7 separate regions of the Homo sapiens genome follow, and regions 1, 2, 3, 5, 6 and 7 are each linked to region 4. Evidence: promoter capture Hi-C in 16 types of primary human blood cells and fetal thymus (Javierre and others, 2016). All regions are on one chromosome and are shown on one strand. The core of a region is centred on a gene start or on the middle of the fragment in contact, and the rest is flanking DNA. Distances in the headings are between cores, read along the strand shown.

The links. The method cuts DNA at HindIII sites, captures the fragments that hold promoters and counts their contacts. A CHiCAGO score of 5 or more calls a contact.
Region 1: a fragment that was not itself captured here is called in contact with the fragment with the promoter of MINDY3 in region 4 in 4 of 17 cell types (M0 macrophages, M2 macrophages, M1 macrophages and 1 more); the score reaches 8.3 in M0 macrophages.
Region 2: a contact is called between a fragment that was not itself captured here and the fragment with the promoter of MINDY3 in region 4, in 3 of 17 cell types (M1 macrophages, M2 macrophages and M0 macrophages). The highest score is 6.4, in M1 macrophages.
Region 3: a fragment that was not itself captured here is called in contact with the fragment with the promoter of MINDY3 in region 4 in 1 of 17 cell types (M1 macrophages); the score reaches 5.1 in M1 macrophages.
Region 5: a fragment that was not itself captured here is called in contact with the fragment with the promoter of MINDY3 in region 4 in 1 of 17 cell types (M2 macrophages); the score reaches 5.7 in M2 macrophages.
Region 6: a fragment that was not itself captured here is called in contact with the fragment with the promoter of MINDY3 in region 4 in 4 of 17 cell types (M0 macrophages, M2 macrophages, endothelial precursors and 1 more); the score reaches 7.8 in M0 macrophages.
Region 7: a fragment that was not itself captured here is called in contact with the fragment with the promoter of MINDY3 in region 4 in 4 of 17 cell types (total B cells, M1 macrophages, naive CD4 T cells and 1 more); the score reaches 9.2 in total B cells.

What each region holds. Positions count from the first base shown.
Region 1 is chr10:16,740,457-16,743,301 of GRCh38, forward strand. The region is part of intron 7 of RSU1 (Ras suppressor protein 1); the gene reads right to left. Among named protein-coding and RNA genes, the nearest start is that of RSU1, 76 kb to the right of the region's middle. The HindIII fragment of the contact is 302 bases long and covers 1,397-1,698 here.
Region 2 is chr10:16,468,428-16,471,314 of GRCh38, forward strand. The region is part of intron 1 of PTER (phosphotriesterase related); the gene reads left to right. Among named protein-coding and RNA genes, the nearest start is that of PTER, 33 kb to the left of the region's middle. The HindIII fragment of the contact is 833 bases long and covers 1,014-1,846 here.
Region 3 is chr10:16,527,319-16,530,028 of GRCh38, forward strand. No RefSeq gene overlaps it. Among named protein-coding and RNA genes, the nearest start is that of C1QL3, 6.8 kb to the left of the region's middle. The HindIII fragment of the contact is 368 bases long and covers 1,182-1,549 here.
Region 4 is chr10:15,859,121-15,862,013 of GRCh38, forward strand. It overlaps MINDY3 (MINDY lysine 48 deubiquitinase 3), which reads right to left and starts at 1,387. Exons shown (of 15, transcript NM_024948.4): 1 at 1,086-1,387. The coding sequence starts at 1,179. RefSeq lists an enhancer at 1,129-1,178. The HindIII fragment of the contact is 10,196 bases long and covers 1-2,893 here.
Region 5 is chr10:16,698,032-16,700,874 of GRCh38, forward strand. All of the region lies in intron 7 of RSU1 (Ras suppressor protein 1), which reads right to left. Among named protein-coding and RNA genes, the nearest start is that of RSU1, 120 kb to the right of the region's middle. The HindIII fragment of the contact is 903 bases long and covers 1,011-1,913 here.
Region 6 is chr10:16,504,526-16,507,255 of GRCh38, forward strand. PTER (phosphotriesterase related) reads left to right here. Exons shown (of 5, transcript NM_001261836.2): 4 at 495-635. Among named protein-coding and RNA genes, the nearest start is that of C1QL3, 16 kb to the right of the region's middle. The HindIII fragment of the contact is 973 bases long and covers 840-1,812 here.
Region 7 is chr10:16,834,339-16,837,038 of GRCh38, forward strand. CUBN (cubilin) reads right to left here. Exons shown (of 67, transcript NM_001081.4): 63 at 1,897-2,044; 64 at 676-857. Among named protein-coding and RNA genes, the nearest start is that of RSU1, 18 kb to the left of the region's middle. The HindIII fragment of the contact is 209 bases long and covers 1,334-1,542 here.

The DNA of each region.
Region 1 (2,845 bases), core at 298-2,797, 880 kb after region 4:
GCCATCTATATTCCACACTGTACTAGAAGTTGCAGCCAAAGTAATTGCCAAGAAAATAAAATTAAAGACATCCAGATTGGAAAGGAGGAGGTAAAACAGCTCTCATAAAGAGAAAATTCTAAGGAATCCACTAAAAAACAATGAGAATAACTGAGTTCATAAGGTTGTAAAATATAAAATCAATACAGTATCCACTGTCTTCCCACATACTAGCAACCAACAACCCAAAAGTAAAATTAAGAAAATAATTTCATATATAATAGCAACAAAAGTAATAAAATGCTTAGGAAAAAATTTAGCAAAAGTATCAAAAACTCTGAAATCTACAAAACATTACTGAAAGAAATCGAAGATCTAAATAAATGGAAAAAATATCCCATGTTCATGGATCTGAACTGAAGCCTTCATATTGTTGAGATTATGATAATCCCTGAAATAATCTACAAATTCGGTGCAATTTCTACCAAAACACAAGTTGGCTTCTTTGTATAAATTAACAAGCTGATTCTAAAATTCATTTGGAAACTCACAGGCCTCAAAATAGCTAAAACAATCTTGAAAAAGAATAACAAAGTTGAAACTAACATGCCCCAATTTAAAAACTTACTACAAAGCAACAGTACTAAAGATAGTGTGGTACTCGCATAAGGATAGACATATAAATAAGTGAAATAGCATTGAAAGTACAAAAATAAAACTATATATCTGCTGTCAATTGGTTGTTGACAAGAGTGCCAAGACCATTTGATAAAAAGAGAACAGTCTTTTCTACACATGGTGCTGGAACAACAGGACAGCCACAGGCAAAAGAATAAAACTGAATCCTTAGCTCATATCACATACAAAAATTAACTCAAAATGGATCAAAGATATAAATGTAAGAGCCAAACTATAAAACCCTTAGGGCTAGGAGAGATGGACGGATTGGAGTGGGAAAGAAAAGGGTATGGCATTTCATTTTGAGGTAACAAACGATGTTCTAAAGTTGTGGTAATGGTTGTACAACTCTGAACATACTAAAAAACACTGAATTGTACACTTAGAATGTATGAATTGTGTGGTATGAGCTGCAAAAATATTCAGGTGAAAATTCCAAGGAGAGAGCAAAGATCATGAAAAAGTGAGAGGAGGTTATTGACAGCGGCTCATGAGTGAGTGAGGGTGATAAGTAGCATGGAAACCATGGGTGCCAGATGGGCCTTAAATATTCCTAGGGAACATTAAAGAGCTCTAATTGACAAAGGCATACAATCCACTCTGTAATTTTCTAAGATCACCTTGACTACGGGGTGAAGAATGGATTGTAAAGGGAAGGTAGGAAGCAGGAAACCAGTTGAAAGGTTACTCTAGCAACCCAGGTGAGAGATGAGGGTGGCTTAAACCAATGTCTTGGGGAAGCTTACATTCTAGCAGCCATTTTGTAATGTTTATTTGTGCAGCTGTTTCTTTCTTTCAAAGATTTTCTTCATGAAGGTAAGGGTTATGTATGTTTCATTTAACCAGTGCTCCCCAAACTGAACTGATTACAGAAATATAATGTATATGGGGTTGGAAGTCAGATTCTGGTATGGTTAAGATGGATTCAATAGGGGCTGTCCAAGGAGAAGAGCCGATATTTTTAAAACAGCAAATATAAAAGGCAACAGAGAGTACTAGGCGTGTTAAAATCACTCTACGTATGTTGAAAAAATGAGCATAAGCTTATTTACTAATATTAGAATGCTATCACCCAAAACTTCACAGGAGTATAAATGGTACAATTAGATGCTTTTGTGTAATGGGTAGTCAACTTAGGGAATTAATACTCAGTTGAAAATGTGAAGAATTCTGGAAAGGTCTAAATATAAATATGAAAGACTGATCCATGATGTCACGGTAAGGCCTAGATTTCAGGTGTTGACAACATGAGGGACAACTGTCACCCACTTCACTCCTTTCAAACTCCCACTGCACTCTGAAAGAAACTCTCACACTCACACACGCATGCAATACCATTTGGGTCTGACTCAGTATAACCTTGCTTTTTTTTTCTTTTAACATAGGAACACTATAATATATAGGAGATGCCTCAAAGGGAGAGGCTACATAAATGTAAGATATTATATATGTATTGAGGTGATAACAACTGTATTTAGAGACATGCCTCTGGAATTTAAAAAAAAAAAAAATTAAATCCGGAACGTTAGCACTGCCGGCATTTCTCCCAGGGCAAAATACATTTAGCATCCTATTAAATCAAAGGAAGTCCACTGCACACAGTGGCAAGCTTTTCCAGCTGGTGTTAACACAGATTGATGCACATGTTCAATCACGCTGAACCTGACACTGGGCTTCCTGAAATTTATACTACAAAACGGAAACGCTTTATGTGTTGCAACTTCCCAACCCCTTTAAGGCAATAACTCACCAGGCAGAAATACAATTCACTTAGCATTTTAAAAATCCATGCTGAAAACATTTTCTGGGGCTAAAGATTTCACTGAAATAGAATATATAAAATGGAACTTGTTAAAAAATATCATGTAGGAGACTTGACGGGAGTCATTTTTGATTATCAGTGAAGGCCAGGGGAATCAAAGGATATGGTATGATTTTTTGTGAAGTATGGCAAAAGAAATATTAATGCAGAATTAAAACGTAGGAGCATGCAATAAAATCCAAGTCAAAATTCAAAGTTGGGTACAAATATTCTATTCCCAACATTTTCTTTTTCAAATAAAATTAAGGCATATATTTGGAACCACAGCAATCTGTCACCTAATAATAAATTAGGCCTTTTTATTGGCTCAGTTTTGACACATTGATGGGTATACCATTGGGAGGAATGCTTATTTTTGAATTAGGA
Region 2 (2,887 bases), core at 180-2,679, 610 kb after region 4:
TTTTCTAGTGCTAATTCCACTTCTATTTATAATTCTTTGCTTCTGCTTTAATTTTTGTTTTCTTACTTTATTGTATGATTCCTTTGTGCGAGTCTCCTCAAACCCTTTGTGGATAAAGCGGGACTAAAACAAGCAAGCATCTAGATGTTCGCTAAATACATACTGTGTACCAGGCACTGCAGGGAACTGAGGACTGAGAGGCAAAGATGTGACTCACCGCAACGAGCTCAAAGTCTGATGGAAAAGACATAAAACAGAAGAAGGTAGCTAGGTGCAATGGCTCATGCCTATAATCCCATTACTTTGGGGGCCAAGGTGGGAGGATCCCTTGAGTCCAGGAGTTCAAAACCAGCCTGGGCAACACAGGGAGACCCCTTTCTCTATAGAAAATAAAAAAAATAATTGGGTGTGGCAACGTGCACTTGTAGTCCCAACTACTCAGGAGGCTGAGGTGGGAGGATCTCTTGAGCCCAGGAGTTTGAGGCTGCAATGAGCTACGATCATACCCCTGTACCCCAGCCTGGGTGACAGAGTGAGACCCTGTCTCTTAAAAAAAAAAGCCAAAAAACAAAAATCAGAAGAAGTGCATTATTAAGGTGAAATTGAGGTGCTATGAGAGTACCTAGAATTGACATCTTACCTGTATTGCTTGAGCAACAAGGAGGAACCACAGGACAATCTTCTAGTTAGGAAGAGTGCTGAAGGCCGAGTAGAAGTTGGCCAGGACTGGGAAAGGGTTAGGGAGGCAGAGTGGGAGTGGGCTGGATTTGCAAGCTGAGAGCAAAGAGGCAGAAACCTGCTCAGAGACCTTGCGACAGGGGAGAAGATAAAAAGTCCAGGAAAGGGCAGGTGAGTGCAGAGTGGGTTCATAGGGTACTATCAGGCTCTATGTTCAGATTTGTTTTTTAAGATTAGAAGAAGACTCAGGGAGAGACACATTCTTGTCTGCGATTTAGAAAGAGCGCTGTATAGGCTTCCTAAGGTGGATTGCAAAGCCAGAGAGACTTCTGAGAAGCTTTTACTGGAATCCATCTGTGAGATGATGGTGGTTCCTACTAAGATCGTGACTGTGAGAATGAAGGGGAAAAGGAATCAAAGAGCTATTAAAGTGGTGGAATTTACGGGATTTAGAAACTGAGTGGGTGTGGGTGAGGCAGGAGTCTTGGATGAAATCTGAGTTCATTCTGTTGTTTGTTTGTTTGTTTCTGAGAGCATGAACTTGGCTCATAGCCTCGAGTCCAGGCTCAAGTGATCCTTCTGCCTCAGCCTCCTGTGTAGGTGGGACCACAGGTGCATGTCACCATGGCTGACTAATTTTGGGATTTGTTTTTCTAGAGATGAGGTCTCACTTTGTTGCCCAAGCTGATTGCGAACTCCTGGGCTCAAGCAGTCCTCCTGCCTCAGCCTCCCAAAGTGGTGCTGGGGTTATAGCATGAGCCACCGTGCCTGGCTGTTTTTTTTGTTTGTTTTTTTGTTTTTTTTTTTAATTTAAATAAGAGCATTTGTAGATGTTGCATCAGAGAGAATGTGAAAAATATAGAAATGTCATGTAAATTACCGAGTGCTGGGCTTGGCACATGGTAATTTTACAATAAGGTTGCTATCTATTGTTATTGTCGGCTAAACTAGTCTAATTAATCTTAGCAGAACTGTGTATGAAGTGCTGTTCATAGTCAATATTTGGCATTCTCTAAGCAGACTTAGGTTGGAATTGCAGCCTTTCAGTCCAGGGGCAAGTTTCTTAACTTTTCTTGGCCTTACTTTCCTCATAGAATATCAAGCCAGCAATGCATTCGTGAAAATTTGAGATAAGAGATGTAAAGTGCTTTAAGCAACACATAGTAGAAGCTTAGTCAATGAACAAAAGGCATTATTGTTGGTTCCCAGCCTCCAAGTGAGGCCACAGGACTCTTATCTATCTTTGTATCTCCCATAGACCTTACCTGCCTCGAATAACATCTTACACTTATTAACTGCTTAATACATATTTATCAAATCCATAGTAACTTTTTATTTCATCCTGTTGAGGCTTTTCGCCCTCCATTAAAAGGGTTTCTTGGGAGGGAGCGGTGGCTCACGCCTGTAATCCCAGCACTTTGGGAGATCGAGGCAGGCAGATCACTTGAGGTCAGGAGTTCAAGACCAGCCTGGCCAACAGAGTGAAACCCCATGTCTACTAAAAATACAAAACTTAGCTGGGTGTGGTGGCGGGTGCCCGTAATCCCAGCTACTTGGGAGGCTGAGGCAGGAGAATCACTTGAATCTGGAAGGTGGAGGTTGCAGTGAGCCAAGATTGTGCCACTCCACTCCAGCCTGGGTGACAGAGCAAGGCTCCATCTCAAAAAAAACAAAAAAAATTCTTCTTATGGTTCTGTTCTTTAAAAAGGTTTCTTTCTATGGTTCTATTTTTATGGTTTATCTTTACTTACAATTTATTGTTCTTGATTCTTTTTTTTTTAACTTAAAAATGATGACTGACACTTCCTAATTTATGATTAAGAACTTCCCTTCACAACACCCCCGCCTCCATTTCCGCTGCTAACCCCTCATATGAGTGTGTTCAGATGAGATCTTGTTCCTGGTCTGGCTTAACTGTGATACGAATTATTCAGGCCATGGAGCTTTTTCTAGAATTGTCACTGGGCTTCAAGACTTCCACCAAAGTCAAAATCAGTCGGCGATGGACTACCTCAAACAGCTTGAATTGAATTAAAATGAACCATAGCACTAGAAAGGCATGTAATTTGATCTGAAATATTGCGCAGGAACAATATCAAGTCTCAGGCAAGACAGGCAATTAGCAACTTTGTGATAATAAAGAATTTGAAATAGCTCTTGAGTTCATAACTCGTTGCCTGCCTGTGTGTTTTGGTTGGGGGATTCAAAA
Region 3 (2,710 bases), core at 116-2,615, 670 kb after region 4:
GAGAGAAGACAAAAGTAACCTATTGCAAGTGGCTGTACGTTCCATAGAAGTAGTTGTATACCTCAGTGTTTCCCACTGAAAGTAGCTGTAACAATTCATGCTTTAATTCATTAATCGATAATTTAATCTCTGGCTCTGGAAAGTGGAAAAAGTCTGTGAAAGCTGGTCCTACTTAAATGGAGATTTGGAGTTTTCGTTTGTCCCGGATTAGTCAAGATACAAGTAGAAATCCTTACACCTGCCAATACCCACAAAGGCATCTATGTTTTCACACAGGCCCCTCTAATTACATATCAGCAGTTAAGAGGTTTCTCCCCTTTCTAGCCACTTCTAAGATGCTAATGATCCTGGGAGTTTTAGCCTTTTGTTGCCTGCTGCTGCGGTGTTTGAACCATTCCAGTAAGCCAGCAACTTTGCAGGGACAAGGACAGAGGTAAGATTTGTTTCTTTGGCTGGTTGGTTTTTGTTTTGTTATCAATGGGTGAAAAAAAGTTAAAACTATCGATTAAATTTAGGGATTACCTGAACATGTCTATTATCCAATAGGATATCCATTATCCATTATGTATTTACATTTGTGTGTATGCCTTCCATTATACATACGTATATTATTTCTTTTACATTTACTCTTAAGAATTTGTTTTTGTAGGTGGGCAGAGGGTCTCAATGGCTACATAATGAGGGTCAGACATTGAGTACCCATGATGGTTTCTTTTTGTCCAAAGCTCCAGTACATAGGAACATTGTTCTGTCATGAAACAGACAACCGACTGGCCCTCTGCCCATGTTCCCCGGGAATGAGGGTGCATTCAGCCTCAGTGGCAGTTTTGTAAAAGTTCTTGAACACAAAAGAGAAAAGAAATTAGGAGCGAATTAAAAGGGATTTTAGGAGAAGTGTCCTCAGCAAAAATGCACTGGGCCAAGCACAGTGGCTCATGGTTGTAATCCCGGCACTTTGGGAGGCCAAGGCAGGAGGGTTACTTGAGTCCAGGAGTTTGAGACCAGCCTGAGCAACATAGGGAGACTTCATCTCTATGAAAAATAAAATAAAAAATTAGCCAGGCTTGGTGCTGTGATGGTGTCACTGCACTCCAGCTTGGGCAACAAACTGAGACCCTCTTTGTCTCAAAAATAAAACATTTTTTTAAAACATCATGCACTAAATCTAAACTACACAATCAAGCTTTCCTTCAGAAATTCTGAAAGAGCCAGAAGGCCCTAATCCAATGTTTTAATCTGATGTTTGACTGCACTGGTTAGAATGAATTCTCTGGGTATATCCATTCTATTATCTTCTCATTAATGTGTAATGTTTAATTCAATTTAATTTAAAACATGCAAGAAAAGAAGTGGACTTTGCTGTCTATTTCCCTTCCTCCAGCCTTTCCCATCTCCAAACTGTGTCACACAGGGCATCAGTGGTCATCTTCCTGTATCAACTGCTCACAGCCTGTGCCCACTCAGCTCAGAAACAATGATATCCTTCCTTGTTGTCCACATTGTCAGAAAGTCTAACTCCCTGGTGCCAGGCCCTGCACCATGGGCGCAAAGCTTCTCTAAATTCCCAGGTTTCATTTTCATAACTGGCCCTCTCTTCTACTCCATTGTTCAGTTATCGGGTATTTACACCTTAAATCACCTTGTCATTTCTCATTTTGCCTTCCCCTTAACTCTTTCAACCCACCTCCTCCCTCTCTCTCTCTCTTTTTTTTTTTTTTTTAAAGACAGTGTCTCATTTTGCAGTCCAGGCTGGAATGCAGTGGCGTGATCATGGCTCACTGCAGCCTCCAGCATCCAGGTTCAAGCAGTCCTCCCATCTCAGCCTCCCAAGTCGCTGGAACCACAGGTACTTGCCACCTCACCAGGCATTTTCTTTTTTTCTTTTTTTGTTTTTTTGTCGAGATGAGGTCTCACTATGTTACCCAGGCTGGTCTCAAGCTCCCGGCCTCAAGCAATACTCCCACCTCCACCTCCCAAAATGCCACAATTACAGACGTCAGCTACCACGCCCAGATCTCACTCCTCCTGATCTTATCACTTTTTCAAGACCCTGCTGCAAAGTCACCTCCTTCCCCTATCTCTCCACCCTGAGCCCCCAAGCTGCCAACCACTGGATCTTTCTTCCCTATGCTCCCAAGCACGTTGAATGTCTCCTCCTGAAAACACTTACCTCATTCTCCTTTTGCCATATACCCTCATCCTTTTTCCTGTTACTGAGAGAAATACAAAGTCTCTTAATCTCTGGTCTCCAACCCCACCCTCACTCCCACACCCAGGCACCAAGGACACATTTACTAGGGCTAAATACATGTTTGTTTATTTGAATGGCTGAATTGGGAACAAATAGCCCAGCTTGCAAAATATTCTATAAACTTAAGAAACCTAGATGTAGTGAACAAGCCTGGACTGAAAATTAGGCATTTCTATGACCCACTTTCCCTAAAGGACTGGACACTCTTTCAACTCTGCCAGAGAGGTTAGATTAAGAGCCAGCTTAGTGTCAATTCTTTACAAAAGAAGTAAAGATAAGAACAGAGAGATAACTTGCACAAGAGTTGGAGTTTAAAATGTATTAGGGCCTTGGATGTCAGACCTTATATGTGATGCGAAGGGTTGCTTGCAGACCCGCTGACATTTGGAACTGGTTCTAATAGTTTAAATACATGATTAGATTTGTTTAACTATTGTGGTTTCTAAATGTCTCACACCA
Region 4 (2,893 bases), core at 137-2,636:
AAATATCCCAACTTAACAATACATCGTAATTGTAATTTTACCAGCTCTTAAAACAAACATGTGGGAGGGAGGGAGAGATTACGTAAATCCTGAATTTTTGTTACAAAATACACGTTTTGAAATAGGGGTTTATATTTACTATGCCAAAATTCCGCCCAATCTATTTCGGGAACAGGTGTTCCCTAAATAGATGTTTTAATAATAATAGTGTTTTACATACATAAATTATTGATCCTTCTGACTCAAGGTTATGTTTTAACCTCATCATCATCTTTCCTAAGTCACCTTTAGGAATGTGTCAGTTGTTTGCCTATCCAAACTTAAGAATTAGGGATAGTTACTAGTATAAAGCGCCCAGCCTGTTACAGTGCAAGAATTCAATAAATGCTTATTTTATTTCATTATTATTTGTACTAAGACTCTTCATGTAAGTAAAAGTCCTGTCTGGGTTACAAGCATACCGGCCGAGGAAGTACTATGATCCATATTCCTTTTTTAACCGTGACAGATAATAAACCATATAAAAAACGGGGATACTTTGGGCCAAGAGTACACTTTTTAGCAAATAACAGTGTTTATACACAGACTACCACGCCTAACCACATAATGACAATACAAACAAAAAACTGCTTTTTGGAATTAGCCACTTGGACTTTCCCTTGGACGTCCCTCCTTCTCACCAAAAATAGACCAACCACCACCAATAGACAGCTCTGTTAGGGGGTAAAGATGCGGAAGGCCACAGCACCCCTTGAGAAAGTGACACCGGGGCACGGGGCGCATCTTCCGTGTCACGCCCTGCAACCCAGCAAGGGGCCACCCTCTCCTCCTCCCCAGCCGAAGGGCAGCCCGGAGGATGGAAAGAGCGCTGCGGGTATTTAGTGGCAGCTGTAACCATTCTCCTACTCAAACTCTCCCCACCAAGGCAAGGCAGGGCGTGTCTAGAAAGTCCAGCTTCAGCGCTGAGCACGGCGACTGGGGCAGAGAGCGGGGCACGCGAGGGGCTGGAGCGAGAGGCGTCACAGGCGGACTCTCGCAGGGCAAAAGAAGCAGCGGCTGCAAGTGTGAGAGCCCCGCCAGGGTACCTTGCGTCCAGCGGCAGAAAATGGTGTCCGAGAGACCGGGGCTGCTCTTGGTGCCCCACACCAGCTCCATCAGCTCTTTAGTCAGTTCGGACATGATGAGGAACCGGCGGGCGGATCTTCGCTTTGCGGACTCCTGCCCCGGAACATGGGGAAGGGGCAACTCCGGAAACAGCAGCTGCGGGACGGCGGCGGCAAACGAATTGGAAGGTGAGGCAGGAAAGAAGAAGGGGCTGAGAGCCACTTGCAGAGACCAAGCCTGTCAAGCCAGGTTGGGGCAGCAGCGAGTTTTCCGTACCGGAAGTGCTGGTGCCACTTCCGACTCCTCTTTAACTCCCGCCCCTTAAGGCTGAGGGCCCGGAAGTCCCCTCCCCGGAAGTGAAATTGGAGGCGGAAACAGGCACGGAAAGCGGTGGAAGTAGCTTCTGACCTTTCTGAACTGTCTGGGACCCTTTGGTGGGGTGGTAGTTTTTGTATTGGGAAGGGGCGTCGGCGTGTTTCTAAACTCCAGGAATACCTTCTTCCTCTACGCACTGCTCTGGGCTAAGCTGGAGGCTCTGAGGCCCAGGCACTAGGAATTAGAACATATGCCCATTGCTTGTATTTTTCAATATTAATTTTGCAAAACTAGAACTATAAGGCAATAGTTGAGTCACAGTGCGGTAACATCCGTGCCTTTGTAGGGCGCTTCTCATAAGCTGGAGGCTGTCCGCCTCTGTACTTCAATAAATCAAAGTCAGACCAACTATTACCTAAAAACATGGCAAAGAATGTGGCATAATGTGCATTAGAAATGCTTCCACCAGCTGCAACGCAGAATTACAAGGTATTTGTAGGGAAACAAATTCAGAGCAACCTGTTTGTAAATGTTACAGCATTTTCATCTCCAGTTTTTGACACTGCAGAGTGTGTGGGCAACACCTGGACTAAAGTTTAGGTTTTACTCATTAACTAGCAGTTAAATTGAGTTCATGTGAAAACTTATGTTTGTGCTGCTTAAAAAAAGAGGGCTTGTATTGCCCGAGCTTTGAATTTAAAACGAAAGGGCAAAATCTGATTTAAAAAAAAATACATGCTTTTATTTTGGTTCTGTAAGGTTTCTGTACTCCTTGGAAACCATATTACTTTGGGATGCAGTAATGCAATAGTTAAGAGGCCAAGCTGTGGGTCATACTGGCCCATATTCCTACCTTTTGCACTTACTAGCAAGTTACCTACTATCTACCTAGGCTTTTTTCTTTCTAAAAGGGAGATTGCATACATTTCATATATTGTAAGGAATAAATGGAAAAAGTAACACATACAAAGGATTTGGTGTACTTCCTAGCACATGGAAGGCATTTATGCAACAGTGGGTATTTTTTTTACCTCAAGAAGCCATTTTGTGGGAATTTGATGCAACAGTAGTTCTGACTTTTTTACCCATAAATTCTAGCCAGTTGTATTTTAGTATAATACGTTATGTTCTCTAATTTCAAAAACATGCAGTTTCATTGTAGAATACCCTTGCATTTGGCTAATTAAAATTAACCCTTAATTTAAAATCTTTTAGATTGCAAATAAGGTTTTGTTAATTTATGCTTTATTACTAGCTATTTTTTCCTATTTATACGTTATTTCTAATTTTATTTTAATTAATTTAATTTTATTTCTTCAGTACCCTTTACTGTAATTACAGGGACTTGCCCAAAGTGCCTGTAGTAGAGCCATAGCATTCCTTTTGATCTTTATTCCCTTTAGAATATCCCTTGCCTTGTTTTTGCAAATCAAATCTTACCTATCCTTCATGTCAGAGTGTGCATGCCAAACTT
Region 5 (2,843 bases), core at 212-2,711, 840 kb after region 4:
GGGAGAAGAGGAGGGAAGTCAGCTACATTTGGGCACAGAGCAGCATTTCTCACCACACTGTATTTTCAGGGCCCTTGGCAAGCATGAGAACAACGTGGAGCAGGGAAAGGATCCGGGAAGGATGACACACACAAGTCTCAGCTATTTCAAATTTTCCCTGGGAAGACTTGCTTGGGATAATGAGGGGAAGAGACTCCTCTTTTCTAGCCTGCATCACAAGCTCCCTTCCGCCGAGTCCCAAGCCTTGCTCGATCATCCGAAACTGAAGGTATGTTATGAGTAAAGCTGGTTTTAAAGACCCCTCCTTGAACTTAAGGAATAGGGACGTATTTCTGCGGGAAAGAAGCACTCGTGTTCTACTACTGACGGCCTGCAAAACCACTCTGGAACGCACACAGCCTCTTGTTAACTTATTAACAGCATCTTACTAAGTGTGCAGTCTTTTCAGTGGTAATCCTCTGAAAATAATGTACTAAAGTTCTATGCTCCCTGACTGCCACTCATGGAAGGAGAATAATGCCAAGAAAGGTCAGCCATGTTCTCTGGGCCCTTTTGTCTGAAGCCTGTAACCCCCTGGAGATCTGTCAATCCCAAGTGATGTCTCTATTTAGGTGCTGTCAGTGGAGACGGCAGAGGCATCACAGATTGCTAATGATGGCTGCTAACTGGAGCACACAGGAGACGCTGGATGCAAGCTAGACATACTCCCTTAAGGGAAAAGGAGTCACACGCTGATGTCTACAAGTCAGAGTTAACAGAAAGGACCACAGGCTATTCACGATCATCTTCACTTATATCACTTCCAACCCATCTGCATATTTTAGCTGGGATGGGGAGTGGCAAGGAGGGTACAGATGACTGGGTTACCCTCCCCACCCTCATTTACTTACTTCAGTATCAAGCAATGCTACTAAATTAAATCCCCAAGTGCTTCCTAAAGCTACATGAACTTAAGAGCCTAATAGAAAAGAATGATTAGGGTTCCCTGGGGAAAAAAAAGAAAAGAAAAAAGCTTCTTGTATGATGTTGGTCTTTCTTTTTAACAAAGAGCCATGAAACCCAGGTATAATGTCCGTGGCAAACCTTAAAGGAGGAAACTATTATAAATGACAGAAATGGAAACCGCGCGAGCGAAACAGAGCAATGTCTCTTTGGAGTTAGAACTGGGACTTGCTGTAATAGGGCATGCTTGTTTTGTTTTTCAACTTAATGTCACCGGTGGATAACACAATACCTGTTTCTGTAGCGCTGCAACCCTCCCAGCAAGCGATTTGTCTCTGGGTTCTCTTGCCTCACTCTGCACCAGTTGGGGATGAAGCAATTTCAGAAGAGGGTTAATATAATTAGAGTAAAGCTGGCCATTATATTGTGTGAAAAGATGACACCCGACTCATATTGGCCTAGCAACAAGTTACCATTGCCTCGGCAGAGCTCGTCTGTCAGCTGTCGGAGGTAGGTTCCCTTTTAAGTAATAACATGCAGGAAGCATCTCACCCCGCTGTCAGTCAGCCTGCAATCGCTCTGACGCCACACGCTTCAGTGCGTTGAGTTAGGAGCCCTCACCCATCCCCTTTATTAGAAGGCTGAGCGGCGCTCTGGTGGTGTTCTAACAAGGATCAGGCAGCAGGATTAAGCACTGTGACAAAGAGGATCTAATAAGCTAGAAAGTGGTGCATCTACAGACACGCTGGCTGGCTCCCAGACACAGATTCACTTTGCTCACTCCTCAGTTGGAAGGCGCAGGCCACTGGGGAAGCCAGGCAGCGCCGTGATTAGCAGTGACCCTCTGACCGATGCTGCTATGAAGATCGTATATCACTCAGAGGCTTATTCTGCAATTGCAAATTGGATTTTCCATTTTATTACCTGCAAAACGACCACATATGCTTCTTTCCAAAGCCTCTAGTACAGCAAGCTTTGCCATGCAACTGCAATTGTGTAAACATTAAATCATGCAAAACACTCATTCTCCTTGCTGGTTATAAATGTGACTGAATGCAATAGACAATTGCAGCCCCATTAATAAGCATGCTCATTTTCACTTATGGAAATTGGTTGTTTCCATAATCACACTCTAAGAATTCTTCCTGAGTATTCAAAATCCTGAAACATGTGGCTAGCGGCACCATTTATCACATAGTAAGCAATCGAGGCGATCTGGGCAAATTTTTCACGTCATCAAAGTAGCATTCCCTCCCTTCCTAATTTCAAAATAGTACCACAGAGAGCTTTTTAAAATTAATGCACTCCAAAAGCCACGCTCTCTCATTCACTCATAAATATCTAAGATTGTGGTCTAACAAGGTAAAACTAAAAAAAAGTGGCTGATTGGGTATAGCCCATCATTACTATACTAGATTTCTCCAAAACCAAGCAATTGATTTGCTCAGAAAGGATCGAGATGGGACATAATAACAGCTGAAAGATCACCTCTTCTCTGCGGCGAATCCTCACATGGAAGCTAACCACAAATGACTCCGATACAAAATAAAAGCTACATTTAGGGACTCTCCCACATAGACAAAGATTCTACACATAAGTCTCCATAATTCTCATTATCATGTGCTAGGCTACTAATTATAGCAGTGCATGATTACAGACAAGTGGCCGACTCTGGAAAGTTCCTACTTTTTCACTTCTTTAGGAACACACTTTACTGAGTGGAAAATGATCAGAAGGCCTATAAAATGCTCATATTGTAATAGACAGTGTCGGCAGTAACTAAACATTGTAAACAACCGGAAATTTCATTACCAGGTGATAAGCAGAATAATGTGCTATAGCCATACTGTGAAATGCTATTCAGTTATTAAAACAGAGTTATTTGTATGCACTGACCTGGA
Region 6 (2,730 bases), core at 76-2,575, 650 kb after region 4:
CTTCACAAGAAAATCACCCTGCTACCACAAGGCAAAGCCTCATGTGTTACCCAGATTAGCATTACTCACCTAATTCACCAGACCTGAGGCCAGATTTCCTTTAATAGTTTTCACAGTTCATAGCAGTCTTTAGAGGATGAAAATTTACCCCATTAAGGATTCTCAAAATAGTGTGGGGGCATCTTCTGAACACAGTTCTGAGGGAGAATTCCAAACTTGCTCTGGAATAATGGAAGCATCATTAAACTAAGTCTGTAGTACCCAAGTACTTTAGAGGGGAAAACTCCTTTTTAGATGAGTAAGTTCTGTTATTTCTAGTAACAAATTGAACTTACTGTTTTATACTCACATCATTAAGAGCCATTTCAGAAGTGTCTGTTACTCGACTTCAACTATGTTCTTGTTCTTGTACATTGTGTGCTTAAAACTTCTAGTATGTACATGTGGAAAATGGGCTCTTCATAATAACAGTTCATCTGTCGCATTGTTTCTAGGACTATTCTTGATAAGAAAGAGCTCTTGGAGTTTGCTCAACTTGGCTGCTACTTGGAATATGATCTCTTTGGTACTGAACTACTTCATTACCAACTCGGCCCAGATATTGACATGCCTGATGATAACAAAAGAATTAGAAGGTAAATATGGTAAAGCCTCTCATAGCATTCCCTTTCCCTAGCCCTTTTTGATTGTCATATCTAGGGAAGTATTAGCAAAGATTCAGAAAACAGTAAGCAGGCCGAACCACAGACTTGCAGAGAAAAATATATCTATGCTGTTTCAGGGAGAAAAATCTCTCTATATTATTTTAAGGAGAAAATGAGTCATCCTAAGTAGGCTAAAGCTTAGCAGAGCCTTAGAAGTTCAGTGCAGATGGGCAGCTGACAGGAAACACAGATAATACCCAACCCCTGCCATGAAAATCAGAGAACAAAAGACATTTTCCTCTATTTACCCCTAATGAAATAAGCTGTTCCTCTCTCAGGTTGACCACACTAAAGCCATAACTTCCTACAAGTAATATTTGAAATGCTTTATCAAAAGTTTTCATTAAAAAGGTGATTTCAAGTTAAATGCTAAAAGTATAAGGTCTAAAGACTAAATATTATGTAAAATGAATGCAACCTTCCAAAACTGTATAATGTGTGATGCTGGCAGATAATTGTAGGAGTCATTCTTTGTAATCAAGTAGAAAATTTTAGGCGTCAATGATAGCTACCTAGTTTGGTCTTGGTCACATGGTGATAAGAAGATTGAATGAACCAAGTTAGAATACCTAGGAGGAGAAATAAATTGGAGATTGACAAGGAAGGCTTTCGTTTGGGAATATCTAAGTGTTGCTACCCAGTGAAGCCCTAAGATATGGTTTGTATGTGATAGTTGAACCGTGGGAATGAATGACATCACTCAGAGAAGAAGATGAGGACAGAGACCTGGGGACAGAGACATTTAAGGAATGGAGTAGGAACCGTTTCTCAAGGAAAGGTCGAGGAGAAGTTTTCAAAGTGATAACATGAGAGATATATATTCTTATGGAAGTCAGTAGAGAGGAAGTCTCAGGGCAGAAGGGCTTGAATGCCGGTAATAAGTGACAAATATCAAGGGAAATAAAGACTGAAAAGCATCCATTGGATTTCACAATTAGGAGGCTCACATTTTATAAACAGAGTGCAATCTCAGTGGAAAAGGCTTGAGAAATGGGTGGGCCGTGAGGAAGAGGAGAGAGGATGTTGAGGTGACTCTTTCAAGAAGCGTGGCAGTGGAGGGAAGCAAGGAGATGGGTCTGGAGTTACAAGTCAATAAAGGATCAAGGGAAGCTTCTAGTAAGAGTTGAGCAATGTTTATGTGACTTAAGAGCAAAAGCAGAGACAGAGCCAGAGAGAATGAGTCCAGGGAAGTGGTGCCCATTCCACAGGGTTACTATAGAATTGACATGAAATAATGTTTTCCAAGTTTTTGTCTGAGTGTCTGGTGCAGAATATGGAAGTGTTCAATAGATGTTGACTTTAAAAACTCTGGATAGATAAGAAATATAGAGCAAGGTTCCTAAGGCAACAAATAGATGGAATCTGGGGAACAAATAGAAAGTCGGTTGAAAGGATGCTTTCTCCATGGAAATGAGAGGGCATGACACAGCGATGGGGTGAATGCAAACAGAAGTCTTAGTGAGGGAAACAGGAGACTGAGGACACATGGCCACATGTCCTCTAGTGTCTCTGTGAGGTGGACATGGTTATCTCCTGAGAAAAAAAGAGTGGATTTAGGGCAGCACTGTGTAGAGCAGGAGAAAGGCTAGGAATGGCTGTCAGGTCAATGAGAGAGATCTTGACATGGATGTGTTATGTGCGAGACCTAGTTGAGTCTAGAAATCATGATTGCATGCCTGTGTATTGGCACCAATGCACACGATTTGGTGATTATTTTCCAAAGCAAAACTGTTTTGCGTTTTGGTAGTGGAACCAGAGAAGTTGTGTGCGTACAAGCAGAAAATGGGAACAGTTCAAGAGATTGAGGGTTGGGATTCTATCTGAAAGAGATGGATAACAATGGAGGAGTTGAGATGAGGGTCATGGGATCCAAGTTGGAGGGAAGAAAGCATAGAGAGGAATGGTCAGATAGACAGGAAAAGCATAGCAGGGCAAATAAGTGGACTGCAGGCTTTAATGAAGTGGGTGGAGCATATATATATATATATATATGTTCAAATATATATACTGTATGTGTATGTGTATA
Region 7 (2,700 bases), core at 188-2,687, 980 kb after region 4:
CATGGTTCTGCCTGCTCCAGGCACAAGGGGGCTTCTCTCTCAGTGTGTCCTGGGGTGGGAGTGGGGGGTGGGTGTGTGGACGATGGGCAAACAGTGAAGTCATTTCTGTGCCCAAATTCAAGCTCTGGAGTTGTGGTGAAGAAAGGACAGACCACACCCCCCTGAGACCAGGGAGCATTTATTCAAGGAAACACTTGTCTTTAGAGGATGTTGACGATGCCCCAAACTTACTGTAGCTGTCAGGAAAATTAGGTGAGCTATTTAGTATCATTGAGCTTCATTTTACAGAACCAGCATGTTGTCCTTAGACTTCCCTCTGATCCTTTTAGGTCTCAACTTACATATTGCCCTCTTGAGCCTTCTAGTTCCCAGACTGAGTTAGGAACCCCAACCCATGCTGGACTCAGTTAGTCCTTTCCACATTGTGCTGTAATTGGCTATACCCCATCTGTCCTTCCTGCCAGACTAGGAGTCTCCTGCGGGCCCTAAGGTTCCCAATTTCCGGTGTTTGGACTGGTGCTCTGTAGATGTTTAGGGAATGAAAGGGTAATGAATAAATTAATGAAACAAATAAGAATCATATAATATTAGCAGCACTAGATAAAAGGTGTAAAATCTTAAGTGATCCACCATCTTTTAAATAATTCATTCAAACGATATTCAAATGCATATCACCTCCAAGAAATCGTTTCTGCATTCAACTGAGTTCTCGATGCCAAGTGAATGAAAAAAGAGGGAAATGGTGTGGTTCTGGGGGGCTGTGAGAGTAACGGTGCAATCCTTGTCATTGTCGTAGTTATCTGGCCATCCAGGGCTTCTCAGGTTGCCAAATGCCTTGTGATAGTCTCTGTTGCAATCTTAGAGGAAAAATAGGCATAATTAATGTACGCATTCCAATATTTAGTGCTCTTTCAACTTCACAGGAATCATTCAAAAAGATCATTGCATTTGATAAACTTTAGAAAAAAGTAATCCAGCTTCTTCGTTTACCTTTGAGATAATTGAGACCCTGAGCAGTGAAGTGAATTGCTCAAGCAGCACACACAGGTGCAATGCAACAGCTCGTTCACACAAACACGCCTACAGGAAGCATGACACAGGAGGCTTCTCCTTTAAAGACGAATACTCGAGCATCCTTTGAACTTTTCTGATCACGTTGAGGTGGAAGTAGCATTCAGACTCTCTTTTCGACAAGGATGCTACCTCCAAGACAGAGTTTTGCACAAGGATTTTAAATCCATTGTTGAGTTATTTGTGGCAAATCGTTATTTACCTTTTTTTTTTTTTTGGTAAAAAAATACCAAAAGTACTTTCGTTTGTTTTAACCAAAGGAAGCTTTCATTTGAGTCAATTCAAAATAAGTACTAAATAAAGTGTTCTGTGAAAATAAACTTCTTATAATAATCAGGTAACTCTTTCAAGGCTTTTTGATTTTTACAAAATAATTTTCTAAGATTTTCAATTTTGTGAAAATACTAAAAACCTCTGAAATATAAACTTTAAATGGGTAAATTGTATGATATGAGAATTATATTTTGATAAAGCTTTTGTAAATAAACATATATATTTCTTGTAAATAAAAATGTATATTCAATGTGGTTAAGTGTATAATTAATAAGATAATTGGCATATTTTTAAAATCAACTACATATACTTTGAAGAAAATGCTAGCATTCTAACCATCCTGGATAGTATTATATTCTCTTTATCTCTTTAGAAACCAACTGTAGTAATTTGCTAAATTGGGCTGGGTTCTAGTTAAGAGAGGGATGTGGTTTTTGTTAACAAATCCTAATTTACTCACAGGAGTCAATTCTAGAAATAATTGTAATTATTCTACGAATAATGGTAATGATGGCAGCTTTTTTGAATAAAAGATGAAGTTCCTGGCCTCACCTGCAATCTGATAGGTGAAACTCATTCTAGAGTTTCTGTTTACAACTCCAGATTTGAAAATGACCATTGCAGTACTCATAGAAGAATAAAACACTGGCACAGCCGAAGCATTTCTGCCACAGAACTGAAATCTTGAATTTCCGTGACCCTGAAATGAAATGGGAGCCAAATCATGTTAGATTTAGTCTTAGAAGAGAACAGGCCATAACAGAAATTAGACTGCATATAAAAGCATGGTGTAAATATTTAGCCATGGAAACCAGCTCTGCTGTTGGAAGTGCTCTGCAAGAAGACTCACGTTGGCCTTGGAATTGATGCAAGTTGCACCTTCCCAGAGGGGCAGGAGGAAGGGAGGCAAAGCTTCTGCTGAAACCACAGACATTTCCCTGCTGAAAATAAGATCCCTCGCCTTTTATGCAACTTCCTAGCTGAGGCCTGTGCCATTGCTCTGAGGATCTAGGCTGTTTGAGAGCTCACTGGATCTCTCCTCCTGGGGCTTTTGCCATTGTCCTGAGCTCCATGGGACTAACAACCACCATCACCCTGATCCAGCCCTTGCTACCCCTTAGCAAATCTAATCAGAGCCTTTGGTTCCACTGTACATCCCCCAAGCCAGCCGGGGCCTGTCATGAGGTACCGGTTCCCCTTTGTAACACTAGGGCAGCCCTCATCACCTCTCAAAAGCCTGGAGTAAATGCAGTCGAATGCCCATCAGTTCTTGGGTAAAAACAAGTTGTACCAAAGTCAGGGTATTTGCAGCCTCCCTGTCACAGGAATGTCTCTAATATCTGCAGTTCTTAGGAA